3 separate regions of the Homo sapiens genome follow, and regions 1 and 3 are each linked to region 2. The links are contacts of gene promoters, found by promoter capture Hi-C in blood cells and fetal thymus (Javierre and others, 2016). All regions are on one chromosome and are shown on one strand. Each heading gives the region's core, a stretch centred on a gene start or on the middle of the fragment in contact. The rest is flanking DNA. Distances are from core to core; before and after follow the strand shown. Region 1 overlaps CBLIF (cobalamin binding intrinsic factor). Region 2 holds the start of STX3 (syntaxin 3). Region 3 overlaps TCN1 (transcobalamin 1).

Evidence for each region. Contacts are between HindIII fragments. The CHiCAGO score rates a contact against its expected background, and 5 or more counts as called.
Region 1: a fragment that was not itself captured here is called in contact with the fragment with the promoter of STX3 in region 2 in 1 of 17 cell types (neutrophils); the score reaches 5.3 in neutrophils.
Region 3: a contact is called between a fragment that was not itself captured here and the fragment with the promoter of STX3 in region 2, in 1 of 17 cell types (neutrophils). The highest score is 6.7, in neutrophils.

What each region holds. Positions count from the first base shown.
Region 1 is chr11:59,835,275-59,838,731 of GRCh38, forward strand. CBLIF (cobalamin binding intrinsic factor) reads right to left here. Exons shown (of 9, transcript NM_005142.3): 6 at 1,900-2,077; 7 at 534-735. Among named protein-coding and RNA genes, the nearest start is that of CBLIF, 8.5 kb to the right of the region's middle. The HindIII fragment of the contact is 3,658 bases long and covers 1-3,198 here.
Region 2 is chr11:59,753,578-59,757,225 of GRCh38, forward strand. It overlaps STX3 (syntaxin 3), which reads left to right and starts at 1,799. Exons shown (of 11, transcript NM_004177.5): 1 at 1,799-2,058. The coding sequence starts at 2,029. RefSeq lists enhancers at 229-729, 419-713, 479-773, 710-869 and a silencer at 1,740-1,999. The HindIII fragment of the contact is 11,536 bases long and covers 1-3,648 here.
Region 3 is chr11:59,855,982-59,859,243 of GRCh38, forward strand. TCN1 (transcobalamin 1) reads right to left here. Exons shown (of 9, transcript NM_001062.4): 5 at 3,096-3,262; 6 at 1-77. Among named protein-coding and RNA genes, the nearest start is that of TCN1, 8.9 kb to the right of the region's middle. The HindIII fragment of the contact is 1,639 bases long and covers 906-2,544 here.

The DNA of each region.
Region 1 (3,457 bases), core at 120-2,619, 81 kb after region 2:
AGATGGGATTACAGGCACGTGCCACCACGCCTGGCTAATTTTGTGTTTTTAGTAGAGACGGGGTTTCACCATGTTGGTGAAACTCCTGAGCTAAGATGATCCGCATGCCTCAGCCTCCCAAAGTGCTGGGATTACAGGCGTGGGCCTCCCAAAGTGTTGGGATTACAGGCATGAGCCACTACGCCCGGCCTGTTCTGGCCATTTCTTTTTCTGGACTTACCTCTTCCCACATCTTCCTAAATAGTACCTATTCTTTGTGTTTCAAAGCTACAAAGTCTCTTTTGCCTGTTCTACTCTGCAATGGACTTTCGAATCTCCTCTGAATTTTTGTTTTTAAAACTTCATCATATGTTGACTTATATGATTTAAGTTTTCATGAGAGCCTTACCTATTTATTAGATTGAAAGCTGCTCAAGCGCTATTAAATAAAAATCTGTTATCAAAAGGAAAAAAATTAGGAAAACAGGATGGATAAAAAATGGGAATTCAGATCAGGCCTTGAGAGAATGATGAATGACATTTGTAATACTCACTTGAACATAGGATTTTTGCGCTGTGCTTCCTCTAGGACAACAAGTAACACTGACCCACTTTTCACACTAACATTGATGGTCTCGTTGAAGAGCAGCTCAACCCCCCTCAGCTGGTTATTTATGGTGTATATGACAGTGATGTTAGATGCAGAGGTGGGGCCAGGGCCAGGGTTGCTGGGTAGAGTTGGTTGTACCTCATGATCTGTGAAGGGCAAAGAGGCCACATTTGTCAAAGATTATGGGGTTTGTATCATAGGTGCAAAATCTCTGTTATTGGCAACTTACCCCAGAAGACATTTTGAGAAAGTAGTGAGTTTCATACCATTTAACAAAGTACTTGGACAACTAGCATAGAATTCCGGCAAAAACTCCATGGCCACCTTGTTAAGGTTGGGACATCACTGGGAAGCAGCCTAAGGGGTTGAGTGAATGTGGTAGTTTTTGGTAGGATTGGGATCAGTTTGCTTGATTTTGGTCTCCACATTCTGCATTGAGATAGACGAGAAACTTATTAATTGCTTCTTGTCTTAGGAAGTTCATGCAATGCAAGAGGAATGATGCTTTGTGTTAGCATTTTATTAAAAAAAAAGAGTTTGAGGAATCCATACCAAACACTAGTAATCTCTGGAGTAATAAGTTTTTATGCAAGACCTCCACTTTCCAAATGCATATTTCTGTAATGTTTGAATTTTTAGTGTCTTTCAATTATATGCATAATTGGATAAAATAAAGATATTTTTAATTAAAAAGTGGCATGCTAGGTTTCCACTCCATCTCATTGATATATTGCGTGCATCGAGCTTTCATATTTAGATCGTTAAGGCTCGATTTAAATATGAATTCTGTTCTTCTCTGAAGCCTCCCAAACAAAATCAACAACTGGTCACTATTTTTCTTTTTGGCATTTGCACTGTGTGTGGCTTTAACTTCTATTTAATACTTACTCGATTGTCCCAAATATTGTAGTTTTTGTTTACACATCTGTCTTCTGACTTTGTGAAAGGCAGATATGATAAGATATGCATAGTGTTTGATGGTACATTTGTGAAATGAATAAATGAAGCTATATGTTGTTTGATAGCTGGGACCATGGAGCTTCTTCTACCTCTAGTATCCCACAAAATGCTTTGCACATAGTAGGAGCTAGGTAAATATATGCTGAATGAAGTAGATATGGGGCTGAGTTCTGAGTGCAGGAAGGTATGTCTGTGTGCTAGCACACACTCTTAAGGACTGGGAGTCAGATGTACTCTGCCCACATGGGAATAATGGACATTACAAGCCTATATGCCACTTAACATTGATCCACATGTCATTTCTGGCATAAGTTGCTGCTTTATGACATAAGGAGAGGTGGATGTCTTACCAGGACTACAAGTGACCTGGGGCACATCTAGGTATGTCTTGCCTTTCAGGGAAGGGAGGATTTGAGCAATGGACATGGGGTTGTGGAATTTCCCCTGCTTAATCTCATTGAGTATCATATCCGTAGTCTTCTTGCAGTTCCATTCCTTTTTAGATGGCTCAGGTGTTACAGAGAGAGCCTGGGAAGGAAGACAGAAAGAGAGAGAAAGAGTAATTAGGCATAGCTGAGAGTTGGCTCTTACATGTCTTAAGAGATAAACTTGATCACTAATCATGGTGATCACGTAGTCACCCAGAATGCAAAGCCAATGCTATGTAAGGTTTGGAAAACATTTGTCTTCAATGCTATGTCCCCACCACTTAGCACAGTGTCTGTCAGACAGCAGACACAGAACTGTGCAATGATCAGATCCAGGGAACACTATTAGGCAGTCATATTTACGAACGACTCTTGAATGTAGAGTGAGGGTGAGAGCTGGGCTCCAGAGGGAGCTTTAGCCTAGGACAGTCTAGCCACATAAACGGAGTAGACCCCTTGTTTCATATTGCCATGTGCCCTCTTTGATGGACTTTTCCCTCACTTTGTGCTTGTGTCAGGACTCTCAGAGGCTCCACAACCCTGGCCCAGGATGGACTCATGACCTGGACTGGGCTGATGGTGGTCACCATCCCCTTGATGACAGTGATTGGTGGACACATGTACTAATCAGAATCATTCCCCGACATACAGACATTGGGACACCCAAAGATTTTTTTTTCCTGCTAAGGTTATTCAACTGGGACCATGCAAATAAACGGTAAGCTGCTAGTGACCATCTTTCTCAGCCACTTTGAAGAAGCCCTGCAGCAGGAAAGAATGAGGAAAATCAGGGCTGGACGATGAAAAAAGAGTGGCTCCTGATATCATGATTTGAGCCCTTTATTCTGGTTATTCCTGAAACCACCTAATTCAGCCCTAGACTTCCCAGTGTATGTGAATAGTAAATCCTCATTTTTTTCTTGAGCTAAAAGGATTTGGGTTTCTGTTACTTGCAAAATGAGTCTTGAGTAATACACCAAGCCATTCAGCCATTCACCTATTTTGCTGCGTTATCTATCGCATGAATAAAATAGAAATAATAACTTCTGTCTATTGTTGGGGGAGTCATTTGCGGTTCCAAGGGGCTAATGTATAAAAGCATTTCGTGATGTGTGATGTGTGATGTGGAAGCTGTCATTACCACCTCCCTTCCTTTACAGTGCGATTATGGCCACCAGAGCATGTTAATAGGCTGAGATTGTTAATGACTGGTTCACCTGAAGCTTGGAATAGGAAATGGGAGAAGAGAGAGAGAGGAGTCAGAAACGGCTGTCTCAGCTAGGGTCAGTATGCACAACTGGGCAGTTGTGACAGGGACAACCATCACTGAACCTCAGCATCTATGAAGCATGGCTCTGGACAGAGGCCACTTTACAAGGCAGTTGCTTTAAGGGCCATCAGGTGGGTGCTCCTCAGCAACAATATCTTGTCCACTTGTCATATGCACCTCCCAAATTTCACTAAGCAAGGTATATTCATT
Region 2 (3,648 bases), core at 549-3,048:
CTGTGGAAAGAGAATTTTTTACTCCAGACCCCAATGGTCCTTTTCAGATTCCTAACGTGAAGGGTTGTTCATATCTCGGCCTCTCGCGGAAGACTCTATTTTCTTGAAGCGCGGGGAACTACGTATTCCCACTAACAAAAATCTGTTAAGGGGCAGGGCGCAGTGGCGCACGCCTGTAATCCCAGCCCTTCGAGAGGCCGAGGCGGGCGGATGGCTTGAATACAGGAGTTCCAGACCAGCCTGGGCAACATGGCGAAACCCTATCTCTACGAAAAAAACACAAAAATTAGCCGGGCGTAGTGGCGCACGCCTGTAATCCCAGCTACTTGGGAGGCTGAGATGGGAGGATGGGTTGGGCCCAGGGGATCGAGGCTGCAGAGAGCGGTGATCGCGCCACTGCACTCAACTTGCGCAACAGAATGAGACTCTGTCTAAAAAACAAACAAACAAACAAACAAACAAACAAACAACCCCCAAACTCCCCAAAAATGTGTTAGGGGAAGGAGGTGGGACAGTGTGTATTTCTGATCTACTCGCCTTTCCTAGTATGACCACCAGGGGGCGCGGAAGCCCTCCTGGTACTAAGGCGGGGACAACCTGCCCAGCGAGCACAGCGGGCAGAAGGAAGTGTGCCGGACGCGAGAGAGAACTACGGCCGAGACCCGCGGGGCCGGCTCAAAGCCCGACCTCTGCCATACGCACCGTATCTTTATGGGAGCCGATGAGGTCAGCAGGGAGCACGCGTTCAGATGGCAGAAGAGGGCAAAGTACTGCTAGAATTACAAAGATATTTACAGCTTTTTAACCTGAAAGCACAGAGCAGATCCTATTCTTCAGAATTAAATCTTCGGCTCGCCAGTCCCGTTTATGGATCTCCACTCTGATGAATGTGCCATTTGTTCCCAAGAAGACAAATAGGGTAGGGAGAAGAGGGAGAGGCGGGGAGAAGACTCGAGATAAAGGGACGATCTGCTTTTCGGAAGCAGAAGCCGCCTGGGAACCACCTGCACACCAAGCAGGCTGCGAGGACGGGGAGCGCTCCAGTGCAAAGTTCTGTATTTTAAAGCCCCTCCTCGCTCACAGGCTTCACAGCGAACTACGAAGTGGGTACCATCTCTGATTTACAGACACGGGAACGGGGTCCTCTTGAGAAACGATGCTTTCCCAAACGTCTGCAAATTGTGAGTGCCAAGTGTCTCCACTGGCACTAACAACATCGAGCTGCTTACGTTTCTCGGAGCGGTCCCGATTTCCAACAAGCAAAAGATCCAAATTCTCTGACCACCCTGACCGTCCTGTATCTCCAGATCTCCAGGTCTTTCCTCTGGACACCTCCTCCATCCCCCCACTTTCACTGCCAGCAGCCCTGAGGCTGCGCGGGATCCCGCTACTCGGAATGCCTTCCTCCTGGCGGGATATTTTTAGAACACTCGACTGCCACCCAATGTAGCCCACATCACATTGTCTTATTTGTTTTCGGGAGCTTGTCCCCGCCTAGCAAGGAGTCGGCTAAGAACTGGATCCTAGCGAGGAGCCCGGCACAGACAGCGAATGACCGCAGCCAGACAGTCGCTCTTGCTCTTCCTCGGCCCTGCGGCAGGATCCGCCGGTGCAGGGGCCTCTCCCCGGACTCCACGCGTGTCTGGAGGGCTCTCGGGTTAGGGAAGGGGGCTTTGGAGACGCCCCGGGCGGCCGGGCGGTGGCGGGACGCGGGCCCTTTAAGAAGGAGCGAGGGGCGCGGCCAGGTAGGGGCGGGTCCAGGGCGGATCAGCGCTGCGCCGGCGCCGGCCCGGGAGCCGGATTTGGAGCGCGAGGCGCCGGTGGGGGCGGAGGGGGCTGCGCGGCGGAGGCTCCCGTGGCCTCGGACGCTCCTCCTAGCTAGCGGCCGCCGCCCGCCGCCGCCTGCGCCTCCAGCTCCTTCGCCCCGGCGGGCCCGGCCGCCGCTTCCGGCAGCTCACCTGGGAAGCGCTCACCTGGGACGCGCTCACCTGGGACGCGCTACCTGCCTCCGGGCGCCTGGGCTTCAGGATGAAGGACCGTCTGGAGCAGCTGAAGGCCGTGAGTTTCGCCGCAGGCGGGGTGCTGCCAGGAGGGGTGCTGCATGGGAGAGGGGCTTCCCTTTGCTCCCCAAGTCGAGGCTGGAGGGGGGCCCGAGCCGGAGGCTTGCCCTCCCCAAGCCCCCACCGCTTCCCGCGCCGGTTCCGCACCCTCCCCTCCCCTCCCCTGCGGGGTCATGTGCCCGGTGATTCATCGCTAGGCAATGATTTTCCTGAACGCCTCTAACTCTCCCACCCCGCAAGCTGGACAGTGTCTGTCCAGAGCTGGTTCCCGAAGCGGGTGCTTGGGCCCGGGAGGTCAGGGGTCCCTTCACCACCTGCCCACTGCTGCCTGGCACTATGCCCAGGACCAGCCTCCTTCTCCCTTTCCTGTTTCTCTCCTGAGGTGCTACAGGCCTGGCTGCCCCTTCCCCCAGGGAGCAGCTCAGAGCTCTCTGGTGACCTCTGGAGCTGTGAGCCGGTCACATGCTGGGATGGGTCAGCTCCTCTCCAACCGGTGGTCTGTAATTGTTATCCCCGGGTGTCATTGTCCCCCCCTCCCCCGCCGTATCTTTTGGAACAGCTGTGGTTAGGTCAAAGGATCTGAAGGTAGACTACCTCCAGCCTTGGCTGCGCAAAAGCTGTAAAGCCTTAGGTTACTTACTGTGAGTCTCTGTTTCCTTATCTATCAAATGGGAATGATCATACCCTAGGAATTTGTTGGGAGGATCAGCTGATACAATGGAACTTGATACAGAAAAGGGTTAACGCATAGGGTTTTAAGCCAGATATTCATTGACTCATTCAGTACATAATTATTGAGTGTATTCTATGGGGAGGTCCAGTGCTAAGCCTTGGAGATTCAGTGGCACAGGTTCTACCTTAATAGAATTAAAATCTAGCCCTTGACACTCAAGAGTTTAGTCCATCTACTTTGGAGCTTGTTACAAGTGTAGCAGCTTAGGCCTGAGTCTAGCCCCGCAGAATCAGAATCTAATTATTCATCCATTTCCCCAGGTGATTCATGGGCACATTACAGTTTGGGAAGCACTGGACTGGATTAGAACTGGGGTTGTCTCCTGGCTCCACTGCTTACTGGTGATCCCTTAAAATCCCAGCCTAAGTTTTGTCATTTGTAAAATGGGTAGTTGTAAGGTCGAAATGCAACAGAAGATGCTTAAGAACACTTTTAGGGTGCATGGCACGGGGGACTTAATAAATGGTGAAATATGCTAATAACTGTGAGTGCTCTTGGGAAAATGCAGATGTCAGGGACTGCTGGGATGATGTTACAAGAGTTTATCCTTTTTCTCCCTTGCTTGGATGAGACCTTCATTCCTGTTTCACCTGTTCTGTGTAGCAGGGCTGCGGAGGAGGCAGGTAGCTGGGGAAGTGAGAGAAGCAAAGGGACAGTTGCCTATTGTGGGAGTGGCCTCTCTGCCTCAGGCTTGTGCTTAGTCATCTCAGCCTCACAGCGTCCAGGTTACTGATGGGGCAGAATTTATTGCCCCTGTTTTTATAGATGGGGAAACTGCTGCTCACGGGGTAGGAGGGATGCTCCAGGACACAGAGCCGGCCAGGGCACCACCAGGAGAGGAACCCAGGCTCTTGA
Region 3 (3,262 bases), core at 475-2,974, 100 kb after region 2:
TCCGTGAGCACTGTATTCAGAGTTTGTTGGCAATTCCAGTCATTTTCATTATAATAGTCTGATGATACAAAGAGGGCCTAATGAGGCAGGGTGGGGTGGGGGGGTGATGAGAGATAAAGAGAGACAGAGAGAGAATATGAGACACTTCAAATAAGGGGGAAGCCTTATCTATAACTATATATGTAACTAATTCAGTATTAATTGAACATTGACTACCTAGGAAGCACCTCAGATAACTCAGTTATCTTTCTTGTTATCCAGAAGCTTATAAACTAGTTTGGGCAGGGAGGTTGGAACTGCTTAATAACACAAGCTATAATAGTTCCAATGAAGGCAGACTTTGCCACATTCATTTCTGTATCCCAGTGCTGGGAAATACCTGTCATATAGGAGACACTCAATAAATATTAACAAACTACTGTAAAAGGAGTTGCCAGAGGAATGCCCTAAGGGATGCATCTAGTGGGATGCCTCTTTCAAAAGAGGAGAGGAGCTCACAAACATTTAATGAAGCTAAAAAAAAAAAAGCTTCCTGGAGAAGGTGGTATTTGAGTTAGGCCTTGGAGAGTAGGATAGAGCACTCAAGAGGAACAACATGAACAAAGGTGTTAGGTAGGAATGGCCAGGACATGACCTGGCAATGATGACAGTATCTGCATTTTAGCAAAGTTCCTCAGGGGATTCCTCCTGGTTTAGGAGAACTGATGTATGGGGAACATTGGAGGCAACTGTGGAAAAACAGGCTGGAGAAGGAAGTTGGGCTAGACTAGTAGATGCTTGAATTTTATGATGAGATGTCTGACCTCATTTGATTGACAACGATGAGGAGGTGTCTGACATTATTTGATTGACAATGGGGAGTCTAATTGTTCATTAAACAGAAACTCTCCTGGCAGCAGAATGTAAGCTTGATTGAAGGGGCAGAATTGTGAGGTAGTAAAAGTTAGGAGGGCATTGGGGTAAGCAAGACAGGAACTAAGGTGGGTCGGACTTGAACATGCTGCTCTGTAGTTTCCCAGGGATGGACAGTTCCTGTTTTCATCTTTTCTTGGAGGTTCTTAAGCTAACCAAGTTGTCCACAAGCATTTGTGGGATATTAAGAAAAAAGAAAAACTGGTCATAGTACATTTCCTCTTAAGACACGTCAATAAATGTTATTCACATACATAACAATAAATTAAATGTTATTAATATTTAAAAATACCCAACAATGTGTTGTAGGCAATTAGCTCTTGATCCTACTGTGAATTTGTATCACCTGTAGGGCTTTTAAACCAGAGCAAGGCCCAGGCTCCACCTCTAAATTTCTGTACTACCTGGCTGGTGTGGGCCTGGGTATTAGTGTTTTCTAAGAGCTCCTTCAGGTGATTCAAATATGCAATGAAAATGGGAAAGCAGTTTATATTCAGTTCAAACTTAGTAAGGCAATCAACAACATAAATAGTAACAACAACAATACAGATAACCTTATGACTGGACCCGTGCTTACACCTCCAGCCTCCTGTTATGTTTCCCAAGGACTCTGTGCTGGTCATGCCGAACACCTTGACCTTAAAATGCCTAACATTCTTTTGTGCTTTTGGGTCTTTGTCCTCACTGTCGTCTCTCCCTTGAAAGTCCTCTAGCCCTGAGTCAGCCTGGAAAATATCTATTCATACTGATGATGCAGTAAAGTTTTTTTTTTTTCTGTAAACCTTCCTTGATCGCTTCTTATATCATCCCCTTAGAGTTTGTAAATCAATGGCTGAATGAATGCAGGAATAAAGTCTCAGACCTCAAAGAGCATATGCACGACAGTGTAGGTGCTGAGTGTGAGTTTTGAGAACAACAGCCCAGGTCCCATCCCAATCTACACCACTTTCTGGTTTTGTGAGATTAGTTAGATTACTGACACAGTTACTGTGACTCATGCTCCTAGTTTAGGAAATGGAGGTGATGGGGTAGTTTGCTCTTATCAGCGGGGGATACATTCCAAGACCTACAGTGGATGCCTGAAACCATGGATAGTACTGAGCCTTAAATATACTATGTTTTTTCCCTATACATCCACTCCTATAATAAAGTTCAGTTTATAAATTAGGCACAGTAGGAGATTAACAACAGCAATAATCAAATAGAACAATTATAATAATATATTACAGCACCATTGCTCTTGTGCTTTGGGGCCATTATTAAGTAAATACGGGTTACTTGAACACATGCACTTCAATGTTGGGACAGTTGATCTGATAACCGGCTACTAAGTGATTAACAAGCATAGACAAAGGGATGAGTCACTTCCTGGGTGGAACAGAGCGGGAAGGTGCAAGATTTTATCACACTACTCAGAATTATGCACAATTTAAAACTTATGCGTTATTTCTGAAATTTTCCATTTAATATTTTCAAGCCTCAGTTGACCTTGGGTGACTGAAACTGTGGAAAGTGAAATTGTGGATAATGGGGGGACTACTGTGTGTGTGAAAGTGTAAACTACGTGTGATAGAACAAGAAAGCAGATTGTAGTAGACTCTAGAGTTTCTTAGAGAAATTGTAGTTAGGAAAAGCTTCCTAGAAGCATTGGCTATGGGGAAGTAAAGCTGAAGATGAGAAGAGTACATGTCAGGGAGGGGAAGGGAATCGTATGAGCAAAATCAAAGTTAGTATAGGAACCGCAGAATGTATAATAAGGTCTTAGGAGGCCAATAAGAAAGGAAAAAGATACTGGCTGGGCGCAGTGGCCCACACCTGTAATCCCAGCACTTTGGGAGGCCAAGGTGAGTGGATCACCTGAGGTCAGGAGTTCGAGACCGGCCTGGCCAACATGGTGAAACTCTGTCTCTACTAAAAATAGAAAAAATTAGCCGGGCGTGGTGGTGGATGCCTGTAATCCCAGCTACTCAGGAGGCTGAGGCAGGTGTAATCCCAGCTACTCAGGAGGCTGAGGCAGGAGAATCGCTTGAACTCGGGAGGCGGAGGTCGCAGTGAGCTGAGCTCGCACCATTGCAACTCCAGCCTGGGCAACAAGAGCGAAGCTCCATCTTAAAAAAAAAAAAATACTGCTTTCTTCCAGAGAAGACTCCCTTCTCTGCCTCCTGTTTCACCCTCTGACTTACCTGCATGGCTTCTCCTGTGCTAAATGTGTTTCCAATGAGACCATTTTCTTTTTTCTCAGACAGAATCTTTTCTACCAGTGACTTTGTATAAATACTGATGTTCTTTAAACTGCCTTCATCTGCTTTGATCTGCCCATTTATTAGACTCTTCTTCACACAGGTCAGAG